Regions from separate parts of the Homo sapiens genome. Here region 2 is linked to region 1. Evidence: promoter capture Hi-C in human tissues and cell types (Jung and others, 2019). All regions are on one chromosome and are shown on one strand. Each heading gives the region's core, a stretch centred on a gene start or on the middle of the fragment in contact. The rest is flanking DNA. Distances are from core to core; before and after follow the strand shown.

What was found. The method cuts DNA at HindIII sites, captures the fragments that hold promoters and counts their contacts. A contact is called where the count stands out against the background at its distance.
Region 2: a contact is called between a fragment that was not itself captured here and the fragment with the promoter of CLDN5 in region 1, in 2 of the 25 tissues and cell types used here (dorsolateral prefrontal cortex and spleen).

Annotation. Positions count from the first base shown.
Region 1 is chr22:19,519,789-19,526,994 of GRCh38, forward strand. CLDN5 (claudin 5) reads right to left here and starts at 4,622. Exons shown (of 1, transcript NM_001363066.2): 1 at 3,239-4,622. The coding sequence starts at 4,467. The coding sequence ends at 3,811. CDC45 (cell division cycle 45) reads left to right here. Exons shown (of 19, transcript NM_003504.5): 19 at 693-820. RefSeq lists an enhancer at 2,305-3,237. The HindIII fragment of the contact is 10,668 bases long and covers 4,392-7,206 here.
Region 2 is chr22:19,259,655-19,266,860 of GRCh38, forward strand. All of the region lies in intron 2 of CLTCL1 (clathrin heavy chain like 1), which reads right to left. Among named protein-coding and RNA genes, the nearest start is that of CLTCL1, 28 kb to the right of the region's middle. The HindIII fragment of the contact is 6,328 bases long and covers 1-6,322 here.

The sequences.
Region 1 (7,206 bases), core at 3,372-5,871:
GGGGGCCTCAGGGACCCCACAGTTCCTCTCAGGGTGGCCTGGGCTACATGGGGCCCATTTTGGGCGCGGGGCTCTGAGTCAGACCCTCGGGGTTTTTGGCAAGTTCTGTAGGGTCATCAGCAGTGACCTTGGGCCAGCCACCTAATCAGGCTTAGCCTGTTTCCTCATCCAAAAATGGGGCCCACTCTCTCCTTAGACGATGAGTGTGAGCATCACAGGACTGCATAGGGTGGGGCGGAGGCAGAGGTGGGGCTCTCTGGCAGTGGAGTGGGTGCTAGAGGCAAACCCCTCCCCTGCAGCCTGCTTGGTGGTGATGTTATGCTGCTGTGTGTCCTTCCACTGAGGCAGGGGCACAGGTGGCCTGGGCTAGGAGGGCTGAGCAGCAGAGTGCCGAGGGATGGAGGGAGAGCCCCCATGGGAGGGTGCCAGGGGGCTGGCTGAGCAGCTGGGCGGGGTCCGTGAGGTAAGAAGGTGCCCGGGCCAGGGGGCAGGAGCTCTGATGTAGGACAGCTCAGCCCAGTCAAGGGGTGCTATGAGGACAGCAGGGGCCTCCGAGTCTGGGGTGGCCTCACCCCCACAAGCAGTCCTGGCTACTCAGCAGCACTACCCAGAGGGGACGCCTGGGCAGTTTCTTCAATTCGGTGGCACATCAACATCGTTTGAAACTTGTTTTTTCTTGTTTTGTTTTCTAGAATTTGATTCTTCCAGAATGACCTTCTTATTTATGTAACTGGCTTTCATTTAGATTGTAAGTTATGGACATGATTTGAGATGTAGAAGCCATTTTTTATTAAATAAAATGCTTATTTTAGGCTCCGTCCCCATTGTGGCTCTGGTCTCGAGGCCAGTGCTTGAGTGTGCTCTGAGCCTTCTGTGGGTCTTGGGCCCCAGGAGCCCTCAGTGCCTGGCAGGAAATCAGCATGGGGATTGGCCCCAAGGACAAGATCTCCTTACTCTGTCCTCCAGGCCCTCCGGGTGGCAGTGGACAGAGGTCAGGACCCCTCGGCATCCCCGCCTCCTCATAGCACCTGCACCGGCCACTGCCTGGTGGTGCCAGCCAGCACCTGGCTCTGTCCACCTACCACTTCCTCTGGTCCACCTGGCCTCAGCCACATAGCAAGTCCACCCTCTCAGCCATCCCTCCACCTGTGGGTCTCACCATCCAGCACTCTTTTCCAGGTCTTTGAAGGCAGGAGTGATTTGGGTAGGTTTTAAGTCAGTGGGGAAAAGCTCAGAAAGAGTGGCCTGGAAAAGAGCACACAGGTAGGTGGGGCTGGTCTTGGTGCAGCCCTTGGCAAAGGGCAGTGGGCACAAAAGGGTGAGAGCTGGACTGGAGGCTGGGCCCCTCCCCTCACCTCTGGTGGTTTGCACAGCTTCCCGGGACCCTTGAGCTGCCTACCCTGGCCATTTGGGAAAATTCAAAGGCTGTGCAGCTTCCTTTCCATGCCCTTTCTTTCCTTTTTTTGAGACAGAGTCTCGCTCTGTCACCAGACTAGAGTGCAGTTGGTGCGATCTCGGCACACTGCAACCTCTGCCTCCCGAGTTCAAGTGGTTCTCCTGTCTCAGCCTCCCGAGTAGCTGGGATTACAGGCACACACCACCACGCCCAGCTAATTTTTGTATTTTTAGTACAGACGGGTGTCACCACGTTGGCCAGAATGGTCTTGATGTCCTGACCCTGTGATCCGCCCACGTCGGCCTTCCAAAGTGCTGGGATTACAGGCGTGAGCCACCGTGCCCAGCCCCGTGCCTGTCCTTTCTTAGGAAAAGGCTTTCTTAGGAATGCCCTCCCAGGCAGCCTTGGGCCTCAGCTTCTGACCAAACACACCAGACCTGGTACTACCCAGTCCCGGTGGCCAGGTGCAAGAGTGTAAGGACCATTGTTTTTGGCTCTGCCCAGGGCCACAGCTCTGGGATCACACACTCCCAAGCTTGGGGACTATTCTTGGTCCCTGTTGTACAGGCCCAGGTGGGGTACAGGTCAGGCCTGCTGAGGACCTCTGCACCGTGGGGCCCCTCTCCCTGTAACTCATCCCACCGGCTGGTTCCACAGCAGCTCCCAGGAAGCTGCCACACATTCCAGCAGCTGCCCTAAGCCACTCTGAGCCTGCATTCTTGGGGTTCTCCCACTGCTCCATGATGGTAGCCTGGCCAGACCTAGGAGACTCCCTGCCACTGGATGTGGCCCAGACATTTCTGGGCAGGGCCCCCAAGTCCAGTTTGGGGCAGATACCAAGTCTCCCTTCCGGCTGGGCTTAGAGCTCTTCCCTGCAGCATGCCCCCTTCATCAGCTGCTCTCTTCTGCTTCTAGCTTTATGTCAAATGTCAAAAATGTGTTAATTCAAAGTGCCTAGAACAAGGCTAAAAACAGTGAGCTCTCAGTGGCTATGTTAGATGGCTCTAGACACCCCCATTCCGAGGTGCCTGGCAGGGGCCAGCACTGACTCCCAGGCCACACAGCCCCTGGAGGAGGAAGGTTACCCAGAGTGCCCCCAGCAGGGGCTGGCACAGGTGCTGGTTGTGAGCACCATTCTGGGCAGGCTGCCAGGCCAGCAGGGTGGGTACAGGCTCTGTAGGGAGCTGCGCTGGGACTGGCAGAGGAGCCAGGACGAGGGGCTAGAGCCAAGCTGTGGTACTCCAGGCAACCAGCTGCCAGCACCTCCTCCCATGGCAACCCTACTGTTGACCGGCGTGTCCTGCATTCACCCCTGTTCCTGCCCCACCCACCATTGGAAAGGGCCTGGTCGGGGATTCTACAGACCTCTGTGGCCACTTGATGGGGCTTGGGACTAGGCAAGCCCTGAGAGGGCAGTGGAAAACCTCACCCTGTGCTGTGTGGGGCTTGGCCCTTTCTGGGAGAAGCCAGCGGCCTGGCTGCTCACCCCCAGCACTTCCCACACCGCAGGACCCCCACTCACCAGCCTGTGTTGAGGGCGCTTCACCCCGCATCTTCTGCTGGGGTCTGCCGCTGCCCCCGCCCCTGTCCCATCCCGGGCCCCAGGGCCCCATGACGCAGCAGCTCTTCTGACCGCAGATCCCGCCTTTCTGGGCTGTAGTAAGTGGTGGCTGTGTCTCCCACCTGGTGGGAAGGTGGCAGGGAGGATGGGGAAAAGAGCCCCAGCCTCCAGCCCTGGGAGGAGGTCTCCACAGGAGTCCTTGGGAGGGCGGGGCTGGTGGGTGATGAATGGGGCTGCTGGACACGGAAGATGGCTGGACAGAGAACAGGACACAGGTGGGAGAGAGTTCAAACCATTTACTAAGCAGATTCTTAGCCTTCCCACTCCCGCCCTCTCTCAAGCTCCGGTGCCCACAAGCCTTGCCTGGGGAGATGCTGGAGTGAGACCGGGAGGTCCAGGCCAAGTCACTGGTCCCTGGGCTCGGGCCCTGCCGATGGAGTAAAGACCAGCTGTACACATCTTCCGGTGGGGGCCCTGGGCTCTGCATCCGCCCCTCCGAAGTCAGCAGGAGCCTCTGGGAAGTAAGGCAGCAGCCAAGACCCCCAGCGTCTTGGAGGGGAAGCGAAATCCTCAGTCTGACACCCGCTCTGCCTATGGAAACAGCGCCGCGCACAGAAAAGGAAACTTCATTCCGTCTGTTAAGGGCAGGGCCGGGCTAGTGGCAGGAGAAGGTCAGCTGCGGGCGCAGGCAGGAGCGGATCCAGGAGCCGCGTCGGGGCGCAGAGCCGGACGTTCCGAGGAGCCTGCGCGCCGCGCTACCCGGCGGAAGCCGCGGTCCATGCGGGGCTCCCCAGGCTTATCCAACGCCTCGCAGGCGTGGCTGGCAGGAGGGGCCCGGCCGTGCCCAGCGCCCTCAGACGTAGTTCTTCTTGTCGTAGTCGCCGGTGGCCGTGGGCCGCCGCGGCGCTGAGTACTTCACGGGGAAGCTGAGGTCGGGACGGCCGGTGCAGACCCAGGCGCCGCAGCACAAGAGGCAGCCGCCTACCATGAGCAGCGCGGTGGCCGCCCAGCCGATGTACAGCGCTGCGCCCAGCTCGTACTTCTGCGACACGGGCACAGACGGGTCGTAAAACTCGCGGACGACAATGTTGGCGAACCAGCAGAGTGGCACGAGCGCCAGCAGCCCGCAAAACAGGTAGAGCACGCCTCCCGTGAGGGCCACACGCGCCTTGGCCGGGCCCGGGGCCACGCAGGTGGTGCACTGCGCGCCCGCCAGGGTCACGAAGAGCGCAACGAACGCCAGCAGCACGGCGCTCACGGTGAGCGCCCGCGCCGCCTGCACCTCGGTGCTCAGAGCCAGCACCGAGTCGTACACTTTGCACTGCATGTGCCCGGTGCTCTGCACCACGCACGACATCCACAGCCCCTTCCAGGTGGTCTGCGCCGTCACGATGTTGTGGTCCAGGAAGGCGGTCACCTGCCACATGGGCAGCCCGCACGCCAGGATCAGACCCCCCCAGCCCACCAGGCACAGCACCAGGCCCAGGATCTCCAACGCTGCGGACCCCATGGCTAGAGGCGAGACGCGCACCCGAAGGCCCGCAGAACCCCCAAGGCCGTGCTGCGCGGCGCCCTGGGCGGGCCCTGGTGCCTTTGCGCCCGCGCTCCCGGCTCTTGGCCCCAGTCCGTTTGCCCCGCGGGTCTGTCGCACCTCCTGGGTCTGCCAGCTCCTGCCGGGGGGTACCCTCTTTGAAGGTTCGGGGGCGGATTCTGTCCCCCGGGCCCGGCCCCCCGGCCCGAAGCAGCCAATCCGTGCGCGGGTCATCGTGCCGCAGCCAATCACAGAGCCTCTGGCAGCTGAAGTTAGGGAAACAACGGCTCTTGAGGGGTAGCTGAGGGCGCGGGACCGCTCCCCGCCCGGCAGCCGCCCCCAGCCCCACCCGCCGTTGTCCTAGTCGCGGCCGAGCGCATTCTGGGCTGGCCTAGGGCGCGCTTCTTGGGCCGCCTCCCTGCGCGTCCCGGCCCCGTCACTTCAGAAGGCGCTCGACCCCCAGTCTGCACCACCCAGTCCACTCCCACATCCCCGACTGAGCCGGGTGGTCTCTTCCACTCGAGCCAGCTCCACTTCCCTGACCAAGGTTTGCAGAAGCCCCCCACCCCGTCACCGCCGTAGAGGCCCTCGTAGGGGGGCTCTCCAGAAAGCCCGCCCCGGGGTCCAAGCCCCACCCAGGCCCTTTCTCGCACTCTCACTCTCCAGCCCCGCTCTGAGTCCCAGCACTGTCTCTCTCATCCCATGGCAAACAGAGAGGCCAGGCAGGCGTGTGGAGGTCAGGCCCAGGGCCCCAGCCTCACCCCCCATGCCACTCACTGCCTCTCTGGAGCCTGAGTCTCTGGCAAAAAGCGGTGGCACAGGGGCTTTCCCCCTGCCTGGCGACCCCCACTCTCCCAAGCCGCAGGGGCTTCCCAGACCTCTCAATCTTCACAGGGGCTGCTCCTCTTCCTGCGGTACTGCCCGCACCCCATCCTTGGGGGCCCAGTTCAGGTGACACCACTTCAGGAAGTTCCCAGTGACCCAGCACACTGGGTGTAGCACCCAGGGGCAGTGGTGGCCCCAGGCCTAGCAGCCTGCTCTGGCCTTCAGACAGGAGAGACAAAGGGACACGGAGGGGCTGTGCCCTGCCCTCCCACCAGTGGCGATGGTGTCCCTGGCACCCCAGCCCCCAGGCCACCCTCCGGAAGCCAACTTGGAGTTTCCTGGCCAGGAGGAAGAGCCCCCATCCTTGCTGGAGGAGGGAGGCGCGGGATTTCCGGGCATTCTTCTGCACAATGGCCCAGCCATTTCTCGAAAGGTCCACTGGTGTGGACACTCCGGGCCCCCTGAGGCTCAGGTGGGGGCACGCGGCTCCAAAACCCACAGCCCCATGGGGGCACCAGCCCCTTTCTAGTAGTTCTTTCCCCAGTCTCTCTCGGCCCCTTTGTTTCCAGTAAAGTTTGAACTCCAGGCCCTGGACTGAGGCCACTGGGTGCCCAGTTCTTTTATCTGGTCTGTGCTCAGTTCCATTGGACAGGGCCCTCCATAGAAAAAGTATGGCACTGAGGCTGGTCACAGATGTGGGAGGTTTGATGACTTTCTCCCTCCTGGGGCCCGGTTCCCTTCTCCCCCTTCAGATGGCTCTGAGATGGTAAATGAGATAAGGCCAGCGTCTGGCTCACCTAGTGTGGGGAGGTTCTGAAGGCAAGTGTGCCCAGCCCTGAGGCTGGAAGGAAATCATACCCTCTTTGCTCAGCCCCACGTGGCCTCTCCCCACCAGGTATGGCTCTGAGGACCACTGCCTTCTCCCAGCTATCACTTTAGTCACTGCCTTCCTCCTGCTGCAGACCCATGGGCCATGCCCCTTCCTCTACAGACCCTCCTGGACATCTCCTCCTCTGTGTACTCCAGGGGTACAGCTGACCCACCCACCCTCTCACTCTTACTACCCCCTAACCCAAGCCCAGGGAACTTCCCCAGATCCCCCTACTCCCAGCCCTTCCATGCCACCATCTTCCTGGGATGACTGCTGCGGCCTCCTCAGGTCATCAGGGACCTGCCCTTGCCCAGCTAGGCCACCCACCCCACCAGGCCCCTCTCCTGGGCCTCACCCTACCTAAGACCCTCCATGGCTCACATTGCCCATGGACGAAGAGCCGACTCCCAGAGCAGCTGGATTGATGTGTACCTGCATGCGCTAGGACTGGCCAGTCCAGCCACCAGTCTTGGTGCGGCCCTGAGCACACACTCTGCCCCAGGAGACTTACCTGCCTATGGGCCTCACATGGGCCGTCTCTTACCTTGGCCTCTTCTGCCCGCAGCGTGTATCTGTCAGGTTGGGTCCTGCTCATCTTCTAAGATGTGTTGCCGAGGTCATTTCCAGGAACACCTTGCTGCACCGTCCCCCAGCATTGCTTTTAGAAGCTTGAGCTGGACCTGTCCTTTTGCTTGCCGACTTTCCCACCTAGTATCCAGGAATAACCTCCACAGGGTGGCTGTCTTCATGCGTCTGTCCTGCACAGGAGGCTGCCTGTTGCCCTCTAGCCAGCTTGGAGCTGCAGCCAGCCCAAGGCTCTCCCTTCTCACCTGGCTGCCTGTTTTTCTTCTCTCCTAGCTGTCACCCTAGGGTGGCCCCAGCAAGCTCATGTTTCTTTGGCGGCAGCCTCACAGCATCTCAGGGACGTGGCAGAGGAGTCTCAGGCTTCACCTTTCACAATCTGGTTTCTACCCTGACCCCACTATGTTGGTCGAGGCCCCAGGCTGCAGTGGAACAATGCC
Region 2 (7,206 bases), core at 1,909-4,408, 260 kb before region 1:
GTGTGTGTTCTAACTGCTCCACTGACTGGCCATGCCCTAGTCCCTCTTCCTCTCTTCAGGCCTCCTTATTCCCTGAGACACAACAATATTGAAATTAGGCCATTTAACAACCTTCCTTGCTAAAGGAAAGTGAAAGTGAAAGGAAGAGTCCTACGTCTCTCACTTTAAGTCAAAAGTTAGGAATGATTAGGCTTTGTGAGGAAGGCATGTCAAAAGCCAAGGCAGACTGAAGGTTAGGTCTCTTGCACCAGTTAGCCAACTTGTGAACACAAAGGAAAAGTTATTTAAGGAAATTAAAAGTGCTATTTCAGTGAACACATTAATGATAAGAAAACAAACAGCCTTACTGCTGATATGGACAAAGTTGTAGTGGCCTGGATAGAAGATCTAAGCAGCCAGAACAATCCCTTAAGCCAAAGCCTAATCCACAGCAAGGCCCTAACTCTCTGCAATTCCATGAAGGCTGAGAGAGGTGAAGAAGTTGCAGAAGTCTGAAGCTAGCAGAGGTTGATTCATGAGGTTTAATGAAAGAAGCCATCTCCATAGCATAAAACGGCAAGGTGAAGCAGCAAGTTCTGATGCAGAAGCTGTGTCAAGTTCTCCAGACGACCTAGCTAAGATCATTGATGAACAAATTTTCAATGGAGAAGAAACAACCTCCTACTGGAAAAAGATGCCATTTAGGACTCAAGCAAGAGAGAAGTCAATGCCTGGCTTCAAAGCTTCAGAAGACAGGTTAACTCTCTTGTTAGGGGATAATGCAGCTGGTAACTTTAAATGGAAGGAATGCTCACCGACCACTCCAAAAATCCTAAGGCCCTTAAGAATTATGCTAAATTGACTGGGCGCAGTGGCTCACACCTGTAATCCCAGCACTTTGGAAGGCTGAGGCAGGCAGATCACTTGAGGTCAGGAGTTCGAGATCAGCCTGACCAACGTGGAAAGAAACCCCGTCTCTACTAAAAATACAAAAAATTAGCCGGGCATGGTGGTGCATGCCTGTAATTCCAGCTACTTGGGAGGCTGAGGCAGGAGAATCCCTTGAACTCGGGAGGTGGAGGTTGCGGTGAGCCAATATCGTGCCACTGCACTCCAGCCTGGGCAACAAGAGTGAAACTCTGTCTCAAAAAAAAAAAAAAAAAAAAAAAAAGAATTATGCTAAATCTCCTCTGCCTGTGTTCTATGAATGGAAAAACAAGAGTCGTGATGATAGTACATCTGTTTACAGCATGATTTACTGAATATTTAAAACTCACTGTTCAGATCTACTGATCAGAAAAAAAAAAAAAGGTTCCTTTCAAAAGATTACTGCTCTTTGACAATGCACCTGGTCACCTAAGAGCTCTGACGGAGATATACAAGGAGATGAAAGCTGTTTTCATGCCTGCTAACACATCAATTCTGCAATCCGTGGATCAAAGAGTAATTTCACCTTTCAAGTCTTATTATTTAAGAAATGCATTTTTTTTTTTTTTGAGACGGAGTCTTTGCTCTGTTGCCCAGGCTGGAGTGCAGTGGCGTAATCTTGGCTCACTGCAAGCTCCGCCTCCCGGGTTCACGCCATTCTCCTGCCTCAGCCTCCCCAGTAGCTGGGACTACAGGCGCCCAACCATGCCCAGCTAATGTCTTGTATTTTTAATAGAGAAGGGGTTTCACCGTGTTAGCCAGGATGGTCTCGACCTCCTGACCTTGTGATCCACCCGCCTCAGCCTCCCACAGTGCTGGGATTACAGGCGGAAGCCACCGTGCCCAGCCTAAGAAATACATTTTTAAAGGCTACAGCTGCCATAAATATGTCTCCTTTGATGGATCTAGGCGAAGTAAATTGATAACCTCCTGGAAAGGATTCACCATTCTAGATGCAACTAAGAACATTCGTGATTCACGAGAGGAGATCAAAATATCAATATTAACAGGAATTTGGAAGAAGTGTATTCCAACCCTCATGAATGACTTTGTGAGGTTCAGGACTTCAGTGGAGGAAGTCATTGCAGATGTGGTAGAAACAGCAAGAGAATTAGAAGTGGAGCCTGAAGATGGGACTGAATTGTTGCAATCTCAGGATCAAACTTGAACAGATGAGGGCTGCTTCTTAGGGATGACCAAAGAAAGGGGTTTCTTCCAATGGAATCTACTCCCAGTGAAGATGCTGTGAACACTGTTGAAATTACTACAAGAATTTAGAACAGTACATAAACTTACCTGATAAAGCAGCACCAGAGTCTGAAAGGACTGACTCCAATTCTGGAAGAAGTCTACTGTGGGTAAAATGTTAGCAAACAGCATTGCACGCTACAGAGCAATCTTTCATTAAAGGAAGAGTCAATCCCTGCGGAAACCTCACTGATGTCTTTTTTTAAAATTATTTATTATTTATTTATTTGTTTTTTGAGATGGAGTCTCACTCTGTTGCCAGACTGGAGTGCAGTGGCGTGATCTTGGCTCACTGCAACCTCCACCTCCCGGATTCAAGCGATTCTCCTGCCTCAGCCTCCCAAGTAGCTGGGACTACAGGAGCGTGCCACCAGGCCCAGCTAATTTTTTTGTATTTTTAGTAGAGACGGGGTTTCACCATGTTGGCCAGGATGGTCTCGATCTCTTGACCTCATGATCTGCCTGCCTCAGCCTCCCAAAGTGCTGGGATTACAGGCATAAGCCACCGCACCCAGCCTGATGTCTTATTTTAAGAAATTGCCAGCCTGTCGCGGTGGCTCATGCCTGTAGTCCCAGCACTTTGGGAGGCTGAGGCAGGTGGATCACGAAGTCAGGAGATGGAGACCATCCTGGCTAATGTGGTGAAACCCCATCTCTACTAAAAATACAAAAAATTGGCTGGGCTTGGTGGCAGGTGCCTGTGGTCCCACCTATTTGGGAGGCTGAGGCAGGAGAATGGCATGAACCCGGGAGGCGGAGCTTACAGTGAGCCGAGATTGCACTACTGCACTCCAGCCTGGGCAACAGGGTAAGACTCTGTCTCAAAAAAAAAAAAAAAATTGCCACAGCCACTCCAGCCTTCAGCCACCACCACTGTGATCAATCAGCAGCCATTGGCATCAAGGCAAGACCCTCCACCAGTAAAAAGTTTACAACTCGCAGCTGGGTACAGTGGCTCATGCCTGTAATCCCAGCACTTTGGGAGGCTGAGGCCGGCAGATCACTTGAGGTCAGGAGTTCGAGATCAGCCTGGCCAACATGGTGAAACCCCATCTCTACTAAAAATACAAAAATTAGCTGGGCGTGGTCGCACGTGCTTGTAATCCCAGCTACTCGGGAGGCTGAGGCAGGAGGATCCCTTAACCCTGGTAAACAGAAGTTGCAGAGAGTTGAGATAACGCCACTGCACTCCAGCCTGGGTGACAGAGAGAGACTCCATCTTTAAAAAAAAAAAAAAAAAAGATTACAACTCACTGAAGGCTGATAATGGTAAGCAATTTTTAGGAATAAATAAATAGATTATTCATTTATTTATTTATTTATTTTGAGACAGAGTCTCTCTCTGTAACCCAGGCTGACATGCAGTCATCAGACTCCTGGGCTCAAGATATTCTCCCATCTCAGCCTCCTTGAGTAGGTGAGACTACAGGCGTGCACCACCACACCCAGAATTTTTTTTTTTTTTTTTTGAGCTAAGGTCTCACTGTATTCTTTGCCATGCTGCTCTTGAATTCTTAGGCTCAAGCGATCTTCCCACCTTGGCCTCTGAAAGTACTAGGATTAGAGGTATATGCCACCATGCCTGGCCATAAATTATTTATTTTTATTTTTATTTTTATTTTTTGAGATGGAGTCTCACTCTGTCACCCAGGCTGAAGTGCAGTGGCGCAGTCTTGGCTCACTGCAACCTCTGCCTCCCGGGTTCACACCATTCTCCGCCTCAGCCTCTTGACAGGCTGGGACTACAGGCAACCGCCACCACGCCCAGCTAATTTTTGGGTTTTGTATTTTTAGTAGAGACAGGGTTTCACTGTGTTAGCCAGGATGGTCTTGATCTCCTGACCTTGTGATTCTCCTGCCTCGGCCTCCCAAAGTGCTGGGATTATAGGCGTGAGCCACTGCACCCAGCCAAATTATTTTTTAATTAAGATAATCCATTTTTTTAGACATAATGCTATTTCACACTTAATAGATTACAGCATAGTATAAACATAACTTTTATATGCACTGGGAAACCAAAAAATTCATGTAACTCACTATTGTAATATTCTTTTTATTGTGGTAGTTTGGAATTGAACTCAAAATATCTTCAAGGTATGCCTGTATATGGAAATCATATATCTGACAAGGGGTTAATATCCAGAATATATAAAGAATGCCTACAACTCAACAACAAAAAACACAAATAGTCCAGTTAAAAAATGACCCACGTGGAGTGGTTCACGCCTGTAATCCTAGCGCTTTGGGAAGCTGAGACGGGATGATCATGTGAGGCCAAGAGTTTAAGACAGCCTGGGCAACATGGCAAGACCCTGTCTCTACAAAGAAAAAATGTTTTTAATTAGCTGGTTGTAGTGGCGCATGCCTATAGTCCTAGCTACTTGGGAGGCTGAGGTAGGAGGATAGCTTGAGTCCAGGAGTTCGAAGTTACAGTCTCTTAAAAAAAAAAAAAAATGGCTACCATTAAAAAGAAAACAATACAAATAACAAGTGTTAGCAAGAATGTGAAAAAATTGGAACCCTGTGCACTACTGAGAATATAAAATAGTGCAACCACTATAGAAAAGAGATGGCAGTTCCTCAAAAAAATTAAAAATGAATAATGATATGATCCAGTCAATTACTTGTGGGTATAGAATTAAAAGGATTAAAAACAGGTTCCCCAAAAGACATCTGTACACTCATGTTAACAGCGGAATTATTTACAGATCTAGCTTTTTTTGAGGTACTACTATCTCTGAGGTACACAGCTAGAAAAAAAGAGTTAATCTGACTATCCAGTTAGTTAGCCAAGCTACGCAACAACTGATATTATTACAATATTATCATCAATTAGCAAAACTGGTTTTAAACCACAATTTGAGAAATAAGGCTGCTGTTGCTAACAGAAAGTCTTTAATGATATCATGATATACCTGGGCAATAATTAAGATGATTTCTTGAATTCACAAAAAGGAGCAACTCAATGGTGAAATTTCATGCAATTTTTTTTTTTTTGAGACAGAGTTTCGCTTTTGGGGCCCAAGCTGGAGTGCAATGGGTCGATCTAGGTTCATTGCAACCTCCGCCTCCCGGATTCAAGTGATTGTCCTCCTTCAGCGTCCCAAGTAGCTGGGATTATAGGCATACACCAACATGCCCAGCAAATTTTTGTATTTTTAGTAGAGACAGGGTTTCACCATGTTGGCCAGGCTGGTCTCAAACTCCTGACCTCAGGTGATCCACCTACCTTGTGCTCCCAAAGTGCTGGGATTACAGGTGTGAGCCACCGTGCCCAGCCGAAATTTGATACAATTTATATCCAAAACACATGATCAGTAAGATAAAGGCCTGCTGCCATAAAACAGTTCTAAAGTTAGCTATAACTATATTATCAACTTAAGTTTAAACTATATAAATTTATAAAACAACTGCTTTTGGACATAATTTAGGTGTGATGTAGTTTTGCTCTCTAGTCAAAATGGTAAATGTTAGACCCTCACTGTCTTCAGGCACTAACAGCTTATGGTAAATGACTTCTAATCAGACTGAACTAAGATGGGAGCTCAAATCCACAAAAAGAAATAAAGAGCACTGGATATGATAAATATGTTGGTTAGTATAAAGATTTCTCTTAATTTCATTAAATAATATCATTTAAAACCACAATAAAACTACAGGTTGTTGAGTTTATAACATATATAGATGCATATATGCATCTTATTTTCTCTTTTTTAATATATTTTATATATTCATATATATGAATGATAAAAATAGCACAACAGAGGGAGGAGGAAATGAAGCTATGCTGGAGTGAAATTTCTGCATTTTAACAGAAGTTAATATTAATAATCTGAAATCATTTGTGATGTTAGGATGCATTTTATAAACCCTACAGCAACCACCATAAAAATACACATACATACACAAAATAGTAAAAAGAAAAATTCAGAAGAATTAAAATGGTATGCTACATTTTAACAAGAAAGGCACAGGGTAGGCAGCTGTGCGCATGTTCCTGAAGCAGCCTATATACACCTTGCCAGAAGTAGGGTTTTTCAAAACAATCAAGAAAACTAACAAATCTTATTTATTTATTTTTACAGACAGGGTCTCACTCTGTTACCTAGGCTGGAGTGCAATGGCACTATCCCAGCTCACTGTAGCCTTGACATAATGGGCTTAGGATGATCCTCAAGCCTCAGACTTCTGAGTAGCTGGAACCACAGACACGTACTACCACACTGGCTAGTTTTTTGTTTTTGTTTTTTAATTTGTAGAGATGGAGTCTCCCTATGTTGCCCAGGCTGGTCTTGAACTTCTGGTCCCAAGTGATCCTGTCACTTCAGACTCCCAAAGTGCTGGGATTACAGGTATGAGCCACCAGGCCTGACCCAAACCTTAGTTAATGATCAAGAAAAAAACAGAAGACACAAATTATCAAAATTAAGAATGAAAGAGGGCACCACTGCCAACCCCAAAGAAATTAAAAGAAGCGAATATTATGAACAATTTTATGTCAACATACTAGAAGACTTAGATAACCTGGATACATTCCTAGAAAGACACAAATTACCAAAACTGACACAAGAAAACAGAAAATCTGAACAGATTCACAGCAAGTAAGGAAGTTGAATTTGAAATTTAAAATCTTCCCACAAAGAAAACCCCAGGACCAGAAGGCTTTCACTGTTGAATTCTATCAAATACTCAAAGAAGACAGAAATAAGTCCTTCACAGATTCTTTCAGAATATAGAGGAAGAAGGACCTCATTCTCTAAGGCCAACATTTGCCTAATTACAAAGTCACAAAAGGACATCACAAGAAAAGAAAACTATAGACCAATTATAAAAATAACAGAAAACCCTTAGAATATTAGTGAACAAAATCCAACAACATAAAAAAACCACCATACACCATGACCAAAAGAGATTTACCACAGGAATGCAAGGTTGGCTTAATAGCCAATAATTAATTTATGTAATACACCACACTAATAAAGGACACAAACTATGTGATCATCTCAGTAGACACAGAAAATAGAAGGGAACTTCTCCAACTTGATAAAGGAT